3 separate regions of the Homo sapiens genome follow, and regions 2 and 3 are each linked to region 1. The links are contacts of gene promoters, found by promoter capture Hi-C in human tissues and cell types (Jung and others, 2019). All regions are on one chromosome and are shown on one strand. Each heading gives the region's core, a stretch centred on a gene start or on the middle of the fragment in contact. The rest is flanking DNA. Distances are from core to core; before and after follow the strand shown. Region 1 holds the start of CDC42EP2 (CDC42 effector protein 2). Region 2 holds the start of GPHA2 (glycoprotein hormone subunit alpha 2). Region 3 holds the start of CDC42BPG (CDC42 binding protein kinase gamma).

The links. Contacts are between HindIII fragments. The study calls those that stand out against the background at their distance.
Region 2: the fragment with the promoter of GPHA2 here is called in contact with the fragment with the promoter of CDC42EP2 in region 1 in 3 of the 25 tissues and cell types used here (dorsolateral prefrontal cortex, lymphoblastoid cells and spleen).
Region 3: the fragment with the promoter of CDC42BPG here is called in contact with the fragment with the promoter of CDC42EP2 in region 1 in 1 of the 25 tissues and cell types used here (lymphoblastoid cells).

What each region holds. Positions count from the first base shown.
Region 1 is chr11:65,313,065-65,316,997 of GRCh38, reverse strand. CDC42EP2 (CDC42 effector protein 2) reads right to left here and starts at 2,132. Exons shown (of 2, transcript NM_006779.4): 1 at 2,044-2,132. LOC105369344 (a long non-coding RNA gene) reads left to right here and starts at 2,309. Exons shown (of 3, transcript XR_007062727.1): 1 at 2,309-3,227. RefSeq lists silencers at 1,175-1,334, 1,505-1,634, 2,095-2,474. The HindIII fragment of the contact is 18,736 bases long and covers 1-3,933 here.
Region 2 is chr11:64,933,422-64,937,617 of GRCh38, reverse strand. GPHA2 (glycoprotein hormone subunit alpha 2) reads left to right here and starts at 1,725. Exons shown (of 4, transcript NM_130769.4): 1 at 1,725-1,784; 2 at 2,158-2,260; 3 at 2,443-2,627; 4 at 2,744-3,147. The coding sequence starts at 2,158. The coding sequence ends at 2,845. PPP2R5B (protein phosphatase 2 regulatory subunit B'beta) reads right to left here. Exons shown (of 14, transcript NM_006244.4): 14 at 3,143-3,921. The coding sequence ends at 3,774. The HindIII fragment of the contact is 7,271 bases long and covers 1-4,196 here.
Region 3 is chr11:64,842,192-64,846,223 of GRCh38, reverse strand. It overlaps CDC42BPG (CDC42 binding protein kinase gamma), which reads left to right and starts at 1,571. Exons shown (of 37, transcript NM_017525.3): 1 at 1,571-1,814. The coding sequence starts at 1,655. RefSeq lists silencers at 1,392-1,741, 1,752-1,801, 1,832-1,881 and enhancers at 2,096-2,908, 2,933-3,227, 3,721-4,032. The HindIII fragment of the contact is 4,484 bases long and covers 1-2,204 here.

The DNA of each region.
Region 1 (3,933 bases), core at 883-3,382:
TGGAGCGTGGGGCTGACTGGTGGGATGTACCCAGAGCCTGGGCCAGGTCCTCCCCGCACCCCCAACCCCATCACACGGCAGCGCCAAGACAGCCTGAGTGTTTCCACAACAAATTGGGCGTCCCTGACAGCTGTCTCACTCACAGCCAGATGTACACACCCAATTCCAGATGTGGGGAGAATCGAGGGTGAGGCCAGCATCAGCGGCCCAGGGGAGAGCTGGGAATTACAACCCTCACGCCCCAGGAATTTAGATTTGGCAACTGCAAGACCCTAGGATCCAGCTTGCCACGCACAGTTTCTCATCTTAAAGCTCCCAGTCACGGCATGGTGGGGTCATTACGGCCCTTTACAGAAGTCGAAGCTGAACCTCAGAGATGTTAAGTAACATTGGCGACGTCATCCAGTTAGGAAGTGGAAGAGTGGGTACCCAGCCTGGTCCACGTGGTTCCCATGCAGTGGGCCACGCCTACTTCCATAATATGTTTGGGGAGCGGGAGAGAAAGGGGCTCACAGCTAGGCTGGGAACAGTGGGTCCCCAGATCTCCTCCATCTACATCCTGACCTTTGGCTGCCCCCGTCTGCCCAACTTTCATGTGTCCAGAGATATGAGAATGAGGTCTCCATCAGGACAGGGCTGTGGGGAGCTGGGAGGGGAGCTCCCTGCAGCAGTCGGGGAGCAGATAGGAGCATCCTAGCTCTCTGTGATTGCCCTGGACAGGAGCCCTGGACCTCCCAATGAGAAAATGACTTCCGGCAGGCAGGGATCCTCCTATCATGAAGAATATTAGGCCACCTCACACCCCCTCTTCTCCTAAATCAGGAGACTGTCCTTAAATCCAGCTCCACCTGGGACTTCCTCAGTAACCTTCAGCAAGACGCCTCTCCTCTCTGGGTCTCACCTTTCCCATCTATAAAATGGGCTGACAACGAAGCCACCACTAAAGGGCCACTGGAGATCCCACTGCAATATTGCAGGTGAGAGCGCCAATGTACAATAGCGGGGTTCAGCGGGTCACTGTAGGTTTTATCATTCATTCAGCAAATATCTACAAGGCCTTCCTTCCTCAAGCACTTCGATTCTCCGGGGCCAGTGCTTTGAACAATAGCAAAAACGAAGGGCTCCTGACCCCAGGCGTCCACCTCCTCCCGCCCTCCTAGACCTCGAGGATGCAGAGACCCTCTAGCGGCCGCTGGGTCTCCCGGGGTCCCGGTGCCTCCGGAGAGGTGCCCGGCTCCGCGGCCGCCAGGTGGCGCGCGTGCTCCCTTGATCGCCTCGTGTCCCGGAGGACTCCGAGAGCGCACCGGGGTCTCCAGCGCCCCTCCCCCGGGCTCCAGGCAGGCGGTCCCCAAGGAGCTGCGCGTTCAAGTACCAGATGGGGATTACCTGCGAGATCTTTTTGCTTCGGGGTTTCTGGTCCCACAATCGGGGAAAAAGGGGGCGATTGGGGACCCTGCCCTAGTCTCCAAGCTCTGGGAGGAGCCTCCCCCCTGTGCTTTCCGGCCTGGGCGATGTCCTAGTGTCCGCTCGGCACAGGGCCAGAGCTCGGGCGTGCGGGCCCCCGCCCCTCCCACGGGTCCGGCTCCTTAGCTCCGGCTCGGGTTCCTGCGCCGACCCCTCCCCACTCCTACCCGGGCGGAGCCCAGCCCAGCCCGGATCCGTTTCAGGACATTCGCGGCCGCAGCTAAAGATAGGAGAACAACTCACTATCGGCTAAAAATACGGCCCCCAGCCCCGGTGGGGATGCTGGGCGGCGGGGCACCCCTGGGTCTCGGGAGGGGGGCGGGGGCCCGGACACAAAATGGAGGGCAGAACGGGGAATTCGGGGTCGGGATGCGTTGCGCCCCCACGGACCGTGGCGGGCACGGGCGAGGCTGCGGGAACCCAGATGCGGGTGGGAAGCCCCATGGAGCCCTAGGAGCCCTCGAAAGGAACTGAGTGAGGTGAGAGGCAGAGCCAGGGCGCGAGCTGGGGCGGGGCGCCACAGAGATGGGCCTCTCGGGGGACCCCCGCGAAGCTGCGAAAATCCCAGCCCGAACTCACCGTGAGGCGCGCAGACGGCAGACCGGCGGACAGCAAGGTCTCAGGAGCTGGACAGCGCGGCGGCCGGACCCGACCGGCGGTGAACTTACAGAGTGCACCGCGGACCCCGCAGCCCCGCCCCGGCCCGCGGAGCCAATGCCGGGGCCGCGCCAGCCAAGCCCCTCCCCATCCCCGCCCAGGCCCCGCCCCACTCCGGGCACCGCCCGGGGCTCCCGGCGTGGGAGGTGCCGCTCCCGGGTCCAGCGGTCGCGCGCGCCCTGGAGTCCTGTCCTGGTTCTGGCGGCTGAGGGCCGGGTGGCGCAGGCGGCCTCCGGCTGTGCCCATGGGAACTAAAACCTTCGGTTCTAGAAGAGCCGGGGGAGAGGCTCCGGGAAGACCGAATTCTTCAGAAATCGCAGAGAGACCTTGGACCGGATCCTTCCCTGCAGGGCTGCGTCGGGGAAGCGCCGGCACAAGTATATTCAGCGACTTCCTTGGAAGCGCCTACGTTAGAATACTACAAACTTACAAGCTAGTTGATCAGTTTACCTCCCACTAGAAAAGACAGTATGGGAAGGCAGAGGCCGCGTGGCCTGGACCCCCGTCTTTGCTGTCAGGCTTCCAGAGTGAAGGTGGGGCTCATATTCAGACTAGTTCCTGGTCCATTCATTCTTTCAGTCAGTCAGTCAGTCATTCCTACAGGGCCAGAAACTTTTTTTTTTTTTGAGACAGAGTTTCGCTCTTGTTGCCCAGACTGCTCACCGCAACCTCCGTCTCCTGGGTTCAAGAGATTCTCCTGCCTCAGCCTCCCGAGTAGCTGGGATTACAGGCATGTGCCAGCACACCTGGCTAATTTTTGTATTCTTAGTAGAGACGGAGTTTCTCCATGTTGGCCAGGCTGGTCTCGAATTCCCGACCTCAAGTGATCTGCCCGCCTCGGCCTCCCGAAGTGCTGCAATTACAGGCGTGAGCCACCGCGCCCGGCCCAGAAACATGTTTTGAAGGGCAGGCACCGCACAGGGTGCTGGAGACAGACTGAAGGAAACTGCACCTCTCAGTGACTCAAGAGAGATTTGTTGAGTATCTACCAAGTGCCTAGCGCTGTTCTTGTCCCTGGGGATTCAGCCTCTGGATTGGGACCTGCAGCCCAGAGAAGGGAAATGGGGGAAATCCAAGTTCCCAGGTACATCATGATACCCTTCCAGGTGGGTAAGTGCTAAGAAGAGTGGGGCAGAGGAAGTGGTGGGTAGTGACGGGGTGGACAGACCTCACTTTCTAGAGGATGACAGCTATGCCAGCTCAGTGTGACCAGGATGGTTGGCTTCAATGCTGTCAGTGTGGGAAGGGCTTTTAGGGAGGCAGAGCCGGGAAGACCTCAGTGGGGGAGGCAGGATGCTGGGGGTGGGGGAAGATGCCAGACAAGCTGGGAGGTCCGGATGGGAAGAAGGGGATCATGGTAGGTAAAATAACAGCCCCCCTAAATATGTTCACATCTAGCCAGGTGCTGTGGCTCATGCCTATAATCCCAGCACTTTGGGAGGCCAAGGTGGGAGGATTGCTTGGGTCCAGGAGTTTGACACTGACACCAGCCTGAGCAACATAGTGAGACCCTGTTTCTACAACAAATAAATTAGCCGGACATGGTGGCTCAAGCCTGTAGTCCCAGGTACTCTGGAGGCTTAGGTAGGAGAATTGCTTGAACCTGGGAGGTTAAGGCTGCAGTGAGCTGTGATCACGCCACTGCACTCCAGCCTGGGCAATAGAGCAAAAACCCATGTAAAAAAAAAAAAAGAAAAGAAAAAAAGCCCACATCCGAACCTGTGTAATCTATGAATATGTTTTGTTACATGAGAAATGGAAATGAAAATTGCCAATGAGGGCTGGGCGCCGTGGCTCATGCCTGTAATCCCA
Region 2 (4,196 bases), core at 476-2,975, 380 kb after region 1:
GGCTGAACTGCTGAGTTCCCGCTGCGTCCTGTTGCTATGCTGCCTGCACCCTTGGTGGGGAGAAGAGAAGAGGTGGACTGCTGCGGAGGACCTGGCAAACAAGGACCCAGGTCTTGAGGGGATGGGGGCTGATGGGGAAACCGTAGGGTGTGGGAATTTAAGGATTAGTGACATTAGTAACATCACTTCCTCTCAAATTGCGTTTACAGCCTTTACTCGACTGTCCCAAACATGGCCTGTTTTACAAAGCTGCTAAGAAGCACAGCTCCAAATCTGGAGCTGTGAGTGCCCGCCCTGACTCTGACTAGCTTACAGTGAAGCTTTGGGAAGTTGTTTTCCGCTGAGCTCTTATTTTCTCATCCAGAAAATGAGGGGGTAGGATTTGGTGAGTTATAAAGTGCCTTCTAGCTCTAGCAGTCTGTGACTGGCCCTGCTCTTTCTGAGCAGATCAGTGAGGCAATGACCCCAAAGCGGGGCTGCCCAGAATCACCACAGGCTTCCTTTGGCTCTCCACCTTGCCCCAACCCCTCTGGCCACTGCTGCCTGGGGGTCTTTCTCCAGCTTGCCACATTCTTGCTCAAGTGTAGTTTAGCACCATGGATGGACAGCAGATTTGAATTTGAAATCAGCCCTAACATTAACTAGCTGGGTGACTTTTAGTAACTTTCTTTCTTTGAGCCTTAGTTGCCTCATCTATAAAACCAGAGTTGGACAAATAGATCAGCTTTGCTGGGGTTGATAACTTCAGGCCCTTTCAGGAGTCAGGTCCCTGTTATTCCAGGGCTAGGGGAGCACTCCAGCTCAGAACGTTACTCTGTAGCACAGGATGCGAATCATCCACTGATACCGTGGCCATGCAACTCTGAAACAGACAGCAACCCCCAAACCCCCGGCCCTGCCACCAAGCACATCTCAGGAGACCTCCACTGGTATAATTTCCCTTGTCCCTAAGAATCTCCTTCCCCAATCCCTTTCCTTTGCAGTTAGAAAAAGGCAAGCAGGACTGAGTTTAGTGGTTTTAAAATTAGGGGTGTGGCCAGGCACAGTGTCTCATGCCTGTAATTCTAGCACTTTGGGAGGCCTAAGCAGGCGGATCACTTGAGCTTAGCAGTTCAAGACCACCATGGGCAACATGGCAAAATCCTGTCTCTACAAAAAAATACAAAAGTTAGCTGGTCATAGTGGTGTGCCTGTGGTCCCAGCTACTCAGGAGGCTAAGGGGGAGGATGGCTTGAGTCTGGGAGGCTGGGAGGTGGAGGTTGCAGTGAGCCGAGATAACACCACCACACTCCAGCCTAGGTGACAGAGCCAGACCCTCTCAAAATAATAGTAATAAATAATAATAAAGTTAGGGGTGATCAGGCCCTGAACAGGGAAATGTTCTGTCCAAGGTCACAGAGCAAAGAGAACCCAGGTGTCCACAACTCAGCCAAGAGTCTTGACCCCTGTGTCGTCAGCTGCACACACGCTGCACACTCCACCAGCTCCTAGGCTTCTCTCCACATCTGACTTATCGAGGCCTGGGCTGTGGGTAGCTTTTTGGACAGAAAGAAGCAGAAAGCAGCAGGAGCTGCTCTCCGAGGACCGCACCTCAAAGAGCAAGATCCCCCAGGTGGGATCGCTCTGAGGCTTCAGGCAGGGGAGGCTGGTTTGAAAGCCGATCTCCAAGAGGGCGTGGCTCCAAAATGCTGGCAAATAAAAGCCTGGAGAGCCAGCACCAAGCTGGAGACCAGCAGGAGGCACAGGAAAACTGCAAGCCGCTCTGTTCCTGGGCCTCGGAAGTGGTGAGCTCGCTGAGGCAGGAGGAGCTCTGGGGAGGGTCTGGGAATGTGGACGAGGGCCCTGCAGGCCAAGATGGGGCAGATGGAGGGAGGAAGATGTTTGCGCTCCAGATGGCGAAGAAAATTCCAGGGAAGGGAGAATCACTGCACAGAGGGCTGACACACAGGTCCTTTCCAGAGACAGCTGCTCACACTCACACCCATACACACACACACACACACACAAAGGCAGATACAGGGAAAAGGCAGCACCATTCAGGCACACCTCACCTGTCAGACCAGCCAGCCCTGGCTCACTCACCTGGAATGCAGTATTTAAAGAACTCGCCATCCCACCTGCACACCCACGTAGAGACATCTCCCCACTGTGTTTCAGATGCCTATGGCGTCCCCTCAAACCCTGGTCCTCTATCTGCTGGTCCTGGCAGTCACTGAAGCCTGGGGCCAGGAGGCAGTCATCCCAGGCTGCCACTTGCACCGTGAGTACCTCTGGGACCGGAGGGCTAGGAGCAGTGGAGGTTCTGGGTGGGAGCAAAGAGCTGAGTGGACGGTGGGGCAGGCAGCACCCTAAAGGGCCCCACACTGAGGCACAGGCAACGGGAGCTGGGGCGAGGCAAACCTTGGCAGAGGCGCCGTCTACTGCTTGCCTATCTCCTTCTAGCCTTCAATGTGACAGTGCGAAGTGACCGCCAAGGCACCTGCCAGGGCTCCCACGTGGCACAGGCCTGTGTGGGCCACTGTGAGTCCAGCGCCTTCCCTTCTCGGTACTCTGTGCTGGTGGCCAGTGGTTACCGACACAACATCACCTCCGTCTCTCAGTGCTGCACCATCAGTGGCCTGAAGAAGGTGAGGAGGGCCCGGGCCCGGTGGATGGACGCTGGGGTCGCGGGAAGACCAGAGAGATGGAGATCCTAGACAGCCCTGAGAAAGGGGACTGCAGCACGGACTCCCCTCTCCCGCAGGTCAAAGTACAGCTGCAGTGTGTGGGGAGCCGGAGGGAGGAGCTCGAGATCTTCACGGCCAGGGCCTGCCAGTGTGACATGTGTCGCCTCTCTCGCTACTAGCCCATCCTCTCCCCTCCTTCCTCCCCTGGGTCACAGGGCTTGACGTTCTGGTGGGGGAAACCTGTGTTCAAGATTCAAAAACTGGAAGGAGCTCCAGCCCTGATGGTTACTTGCTATGGAATTTTTTTAAATAAGGGGAGGGTTGTTCCAGCTTTGATCCTTTGTAAGATTTTGTGACTGTCACCTGAGAAGAGGGGAGTTTCTGCTTCTTCCCTGCCTCTGCCTGGCCCTTCTAAACCAATCTTTCATCATTTTACTTCCCTCTTTGCCCTTACCCCTAAATAAAGCAAGCAGTTCTTGAATTTCTCTCTTTATTAAGTCTACCCCCAGCCACGGAAAGAGGAGTAGACCATGATTACTGTGAACCCCCCCTTACCCCAGGACACTGTGAATCTCTTCTTGCCTGTGCCCTCCCCCTCCCCCTGCCCAATAAATAAAAAGGGGACAAGGAAGTACACAGCGAGGGAAGGGAGGAGTGTGCACCCAGGACAGTGTCTGTGTAGAGGGTGAGCTGGGCGAGAATAAATAGACCATGGACCCCATGGTGGGGATAAGGAAGGACCTCGCATTGGCCAAGGCAGGGGCAGGCGAGGCGCTGAGTGCCCTTGCCCAAGGCCAGGAGCAGAGGGTGGGAGCCCGCCTGCAGCTGGAGCCTAGCTTTGCGGGGCAGGGGAAGATCCCTGATGGCAGCTTCCTGGTCAAGCTTGCCCTTGTCAAGTCCTGCCACGAGGGGCTGAGCATTCTGTTGCCAAGACCACCATTGCCTCTCCTCGTCTCCCCCCAGTGAAAGCTGGGCTGGGCAGGGAGTCCTCAGAAGCCACTCTGGCAAGGCCAGGGGTAGGTGTGTTTCTCTCTGGGCCCCTGGACAGGAGAAGGGATAGAGGGACTGACAGCTCTGGGTTTAGCTTTTCCCCTTCTGAGGTGCTGTCTAGCTCTGACCCCCACTGGCGGCCACCTGGGGTGTAAGCCGCTGGAGGGGGGCCTCCTTGGCCCCCTGGGTCCCCTGTAGCCGGCGTAGCCGCAGCTCCTCCAGACCTTGCCATAACTCCTGACGCTCCTGGGCCTTCTGCTGCTCCCTGGGGAGAGAGGGTGAGGCAGCTCCCTTTCCTGGGGCCCCCCACAGTCCAGACTCCCTCACAGTCCAGACTCCCTCACTACCACCCCACCGGCAAAGGGAAGGCATGGAACCATTTTTGTTCTGTGACTCCATAAAAACCCTCTACTGAGGGAAGAGAGCAGAGGACAGACAGATCCCAGCCTGCAGTCACAGAGAAGATGACGGGTGGGGCCTGAGTGGTTCTGGCTTCTGTAGGAAGCTACAGGGAGTCAGAACAAGTCTGAGCTACTCGAA
Region 3 (4,032 bases), core at 322-2,821, 470 kb after region 1:
TACTAAAAATACAAAAATTAGCTGGGTGTGGTGGCACATGCCTATAATCCCAGCTACTTGGGAGGCTGAGGCAGGAGACTCTCTTGAACCTGGGAGGCAGAGGTTGCAGTGAGCCGAGATCGTGCCACTGCACTCTGGCCTGGGTGACAGCGTGAGACACCATCTCAAAAAACAAAACATCAGCCTGGCCTAGTGGTGTGAGCCTGTAGTCTCAGCTATTCGGGAGGCTGAGGTGGGAGGATCACTTGAACCCAGGAGGTTGAGGCTGTGGTGAGCTACGATTGCACCACTGCACTCCAGCCTAGGGGACAGAGTGAGACCCTGTCTCAAAAAAGAGAAAGAAGTGTTGTCTAGGCCGGGTGTAGTTGCCCATGTCTGTAATCCCAGAACTCCGGGAGGCCAAGGTGGGAGGATTACCTGAGCCCAGGAGTTCGAGACCAGCCTGGTCAACATAACAATAACCCTTGACTCCAAAAAGTAAAATAAAAAATCAGCTGGGTGTGGTGGCATCTGCCTGTAATCCCAGCTACTCAAGAGGCTGAGGCAGGAGCCTAAGAGGTCAAGGCTGCAGTGAGTTATGATTGCATCACTGCACTCCAGCATGGGTGACAGAGAGACCCTGTCTCAAAAAAAAAAAAAAAAAAGTGTTGTCTGAAGCCACCAATATGTCCCACCCTTTGATCTCTCCTCATGGTGCCTGGTCCATCCCAGCTGGACAGAAATCAGAAATACCACTGGACAGAGCCAGCCCCTCCCCTCCCCAACCTCCTCCAGCCTATCTCAGACCTCTCCTTGCCCTTCACGTTCCAGGTCAGACCTCAGGCCCTGCTCCTACTGAAGCTTAAAACGCCTGTGGTGTTGGTACCAGCCCAGCTCCACCTCCACCCCAGGGTCTAACTTAAGAGCCACCTTGTCCTCAGCCCCTCAATTCGCCTTCCTCCTTCCCAAGCCTCAGTGTGTCCATCTGCCAAATGGGCGTGACCATCCCTACCCCAACTTCCTGTCTCCCACATCAACTCTAATGATACAATCAAAGTAAGATTCAGAAACTTTTTTTTGGGCGGGGGCGGGGGGGCGATGGGTGCCAAGCGCGGGCAAACCATGGAGAGAGCGAACTACAATTCCCATCCGGCTCCGGGGCCGCGGGCGTCCCTAGCCCCTCTCTCTTAGCCAAGGGCAAGGCGGCTGCGACCCAGGGGGCGAGAGAAGTTGCAGTGCTCCGCGCCTCCTGGGTCAGGGCCCAGGGAGGGCCCAGGTAAGTCTGGGTCTGGGGCCGCGCGGGGATCTGGGGAGTCTTTCCGACCCCGCAGAACCCCACCGCGCCCCGCGCAGAAGTCAGTTGTTCTCCCCGGCCCGCCCCCGCACTTCCTGGCCGGGAGTTGGGCCCGCCCCCGCGCGCCTCCGCCCCCACCTTCACCTCTAGCCGCGGCTCCCATTGGCCGGCGCGCACCTGCCCGTCCGTCGGGGGGCGGGGCGCGGCGCCCAGGTGAGGGCGCGCTGGCGGCGGCGGAGGAAGGTGACAGCGGGGAGGGCGGGAGAGGGGCGGGGGAGGACGCGCGGACAGAGCCTCAGACGGTTGGGCGGACGGACGGCCCGACAGGCGGGCATGCGGGCGGCCAGACTGTAGCCGAGCAGCGAGGCTCCGGCCGCAGCCATGGAGCGGCGGCTGCGCGCGCTGGAGCAGCTGGCGCGGGGCGAGGCCGGCGGCTGCCCGGGGCTCGACGGCCTCCTAGATCTGCTGCTGGCGCTGCACCACGAGCTCAGCAGCGGCCCCCTACGGCGGGAGCGCAGCGTGGCGCAGTTCCTGAGCTGGGGTGAGTGGCGGGGCGGCACGGAGCGGGGGCGGGCCTAGGGATATCGCGCCGAGACCCCCGCACCCGCAGACTTTCCCGCAGGGACCCGCACCCCCACGGGCTTCCCTCGCAGACTCCCTGCAGTGGCCCTGACGCGTACCACCGGACCCCCGCGGCCCGCACACTCGCCTGCACACCTCACCCTCACTCCAATTCTCACACACGCTCTCTCCCTCTCACAGACCCCGACACATGCACACACATACCAACTTGTGCTCAGGTATCGACCGCAGACGCATGTACCCAGTGCACCGCCTAGAGTCCCTTACAGATTTCCTTGCTTACAGGCCACACCTGACGCAGGACACACACAGACCCTCATGCATGTCACCCACTGATACACGGGCTCTGTTTCTCCTTCCTCTCGGATGCATTGAGACACACAACTCATGGAGAGACCCAGGGAGCGCTGCAGACCACCCCGACCGCATTGGCACTGCAAAACACACAGATCTGTAGGTATCGCACACTTGCAGACCTTCCCCCCACCAACACACACACCCCCAGCTCCCTGGGTACAAGACCACTGCAGCCTGGACTCAGGAACCGATCTCCAACCCTTGGCCTGTGCAGGCTGCTGGCCAAGCTCCTTGGGGGCTGTGGCGCCGGGGCCGGGGAGGGGGGCCTAGCTGGAGATGGGTCTGTACCTTTCCTGGTAGACTCATCTGAGTCATTGGGAGTGGCTGGCCCGGGGTGACCCTGAACCCACTGTGGGCACTGGCGCCAGCTGGAGGGTTCCCTGGTCACACCCTGCCGGGCCATGGGGAAAAGGCACGGGGGCCTGGCCAGGGCGGGGTGAGGCAGGTGTTTGCCCAGTGGGCAACTAGCGTTCCTGGCACTCCTGAGCTCTGGGAAGGCACAAGGCCTGGGGTAGAGGGGGAGGCTGCCACCTAGATGTGCCAGGGAGTTGTCCCCTAGCCCCAACCCTTCCATCCAGGGCGAGGCAGTCAGAGGCCCCTGCCTCTGTGCCTGTCTCCCTGGTATGCCTCCGTGCTATGCCTGTCTGCCTGTGTTGTTGTCACCCCCCCCATGACACCCACACACGTGTGTGTGTTTGCACACACATGTGTGCTCCTCCCTGACTGCCTCCAGCACCTCTGCCTGGGACCCCGGCATGGGGGCCCTCTGTTGACAATCTCCCAAGGTAACTCAAAGGGCTGTGACTCATTCCTCTCCTGCTTGTCTCTACTTGTCCCTGCTCCTGCCCGGAGCCCCCATGCCCTGTGGGAGGCCAGAGGATTAGGCAGCCTGTCCAGGGGCCTGGATCCTCCTGCCTGTGGGCCTGGGCTTCGGCCCTCTTCTGGCGGGTGGGTCCCTATGGTGCTGGCTTCAACTCCCACGGGGAGGCCCGGGGCTGCTCCTCCCCAGCTCCACACACAGACCTGGGAAAGAGACAATGAATTTCTGTAATGAGGTTTCCACCCCGCCCCCGCTGCGGGCTTCTGCCTGATAAACCTGTGGAACAGCTCTCTGTCCCACCCACAGACCCGCCCAGCTGGCAGGGAGTTTACCTCCTGGCAGGGGGAAACTGAGGCAGGGCGCCAGACCACAGCTGCCCCCCATCCTGACTGATCACTCCTGCCTCCCTAAGACCCAATTCCTTCCCAAAACCTGGGGCTAATCCAGGCCTGGAAAGTGCCTGGGAGTGGCTGGAGTTGCCCTTCCTGGAGGTATCTGGGATGTGAGGAAAGAGGACGTTCTTGACCAGACAAAAGCTTCGTCCAGACAGGGAGGCAGGGCTGGGAGTGAGAGAGCCGGTCAGGCCTGGAGGCATCCTGAGCACTCACGCCTTCAGGGGCTAGTGCTAGCACCAGGGAAAGGCATCTTTGTCCTGTTTGTGAGTCTCAGCACCTTGGCAGACTGGCATCCATGCCTCCAGCCTGAGGGGCCCCACGTGGGAAGCATAGAGCCTGTCCTCCCTGCCCTAGGGGCTGCAGGCCTCACCCCCAACCAGGCACCTCTATGCCTACAGGGTCCCGGGACCCAGGCCCACAGCTCCTGAATGGGAGAGAAGCCTCTCTGGGGATAAGGAATGTCACCCGTCCAGTTTCCTAAGACAGGCCCTGGCCTGAACCTGTGAGGGGGCCAAGAACTGTGAGGTGGGGGTAGGAATGGTGTCCCCATGGTCCCCAGGGTGACCTGGCCAAGCAGAGTCAGGCCGCAGACTGGGCAGGACTAC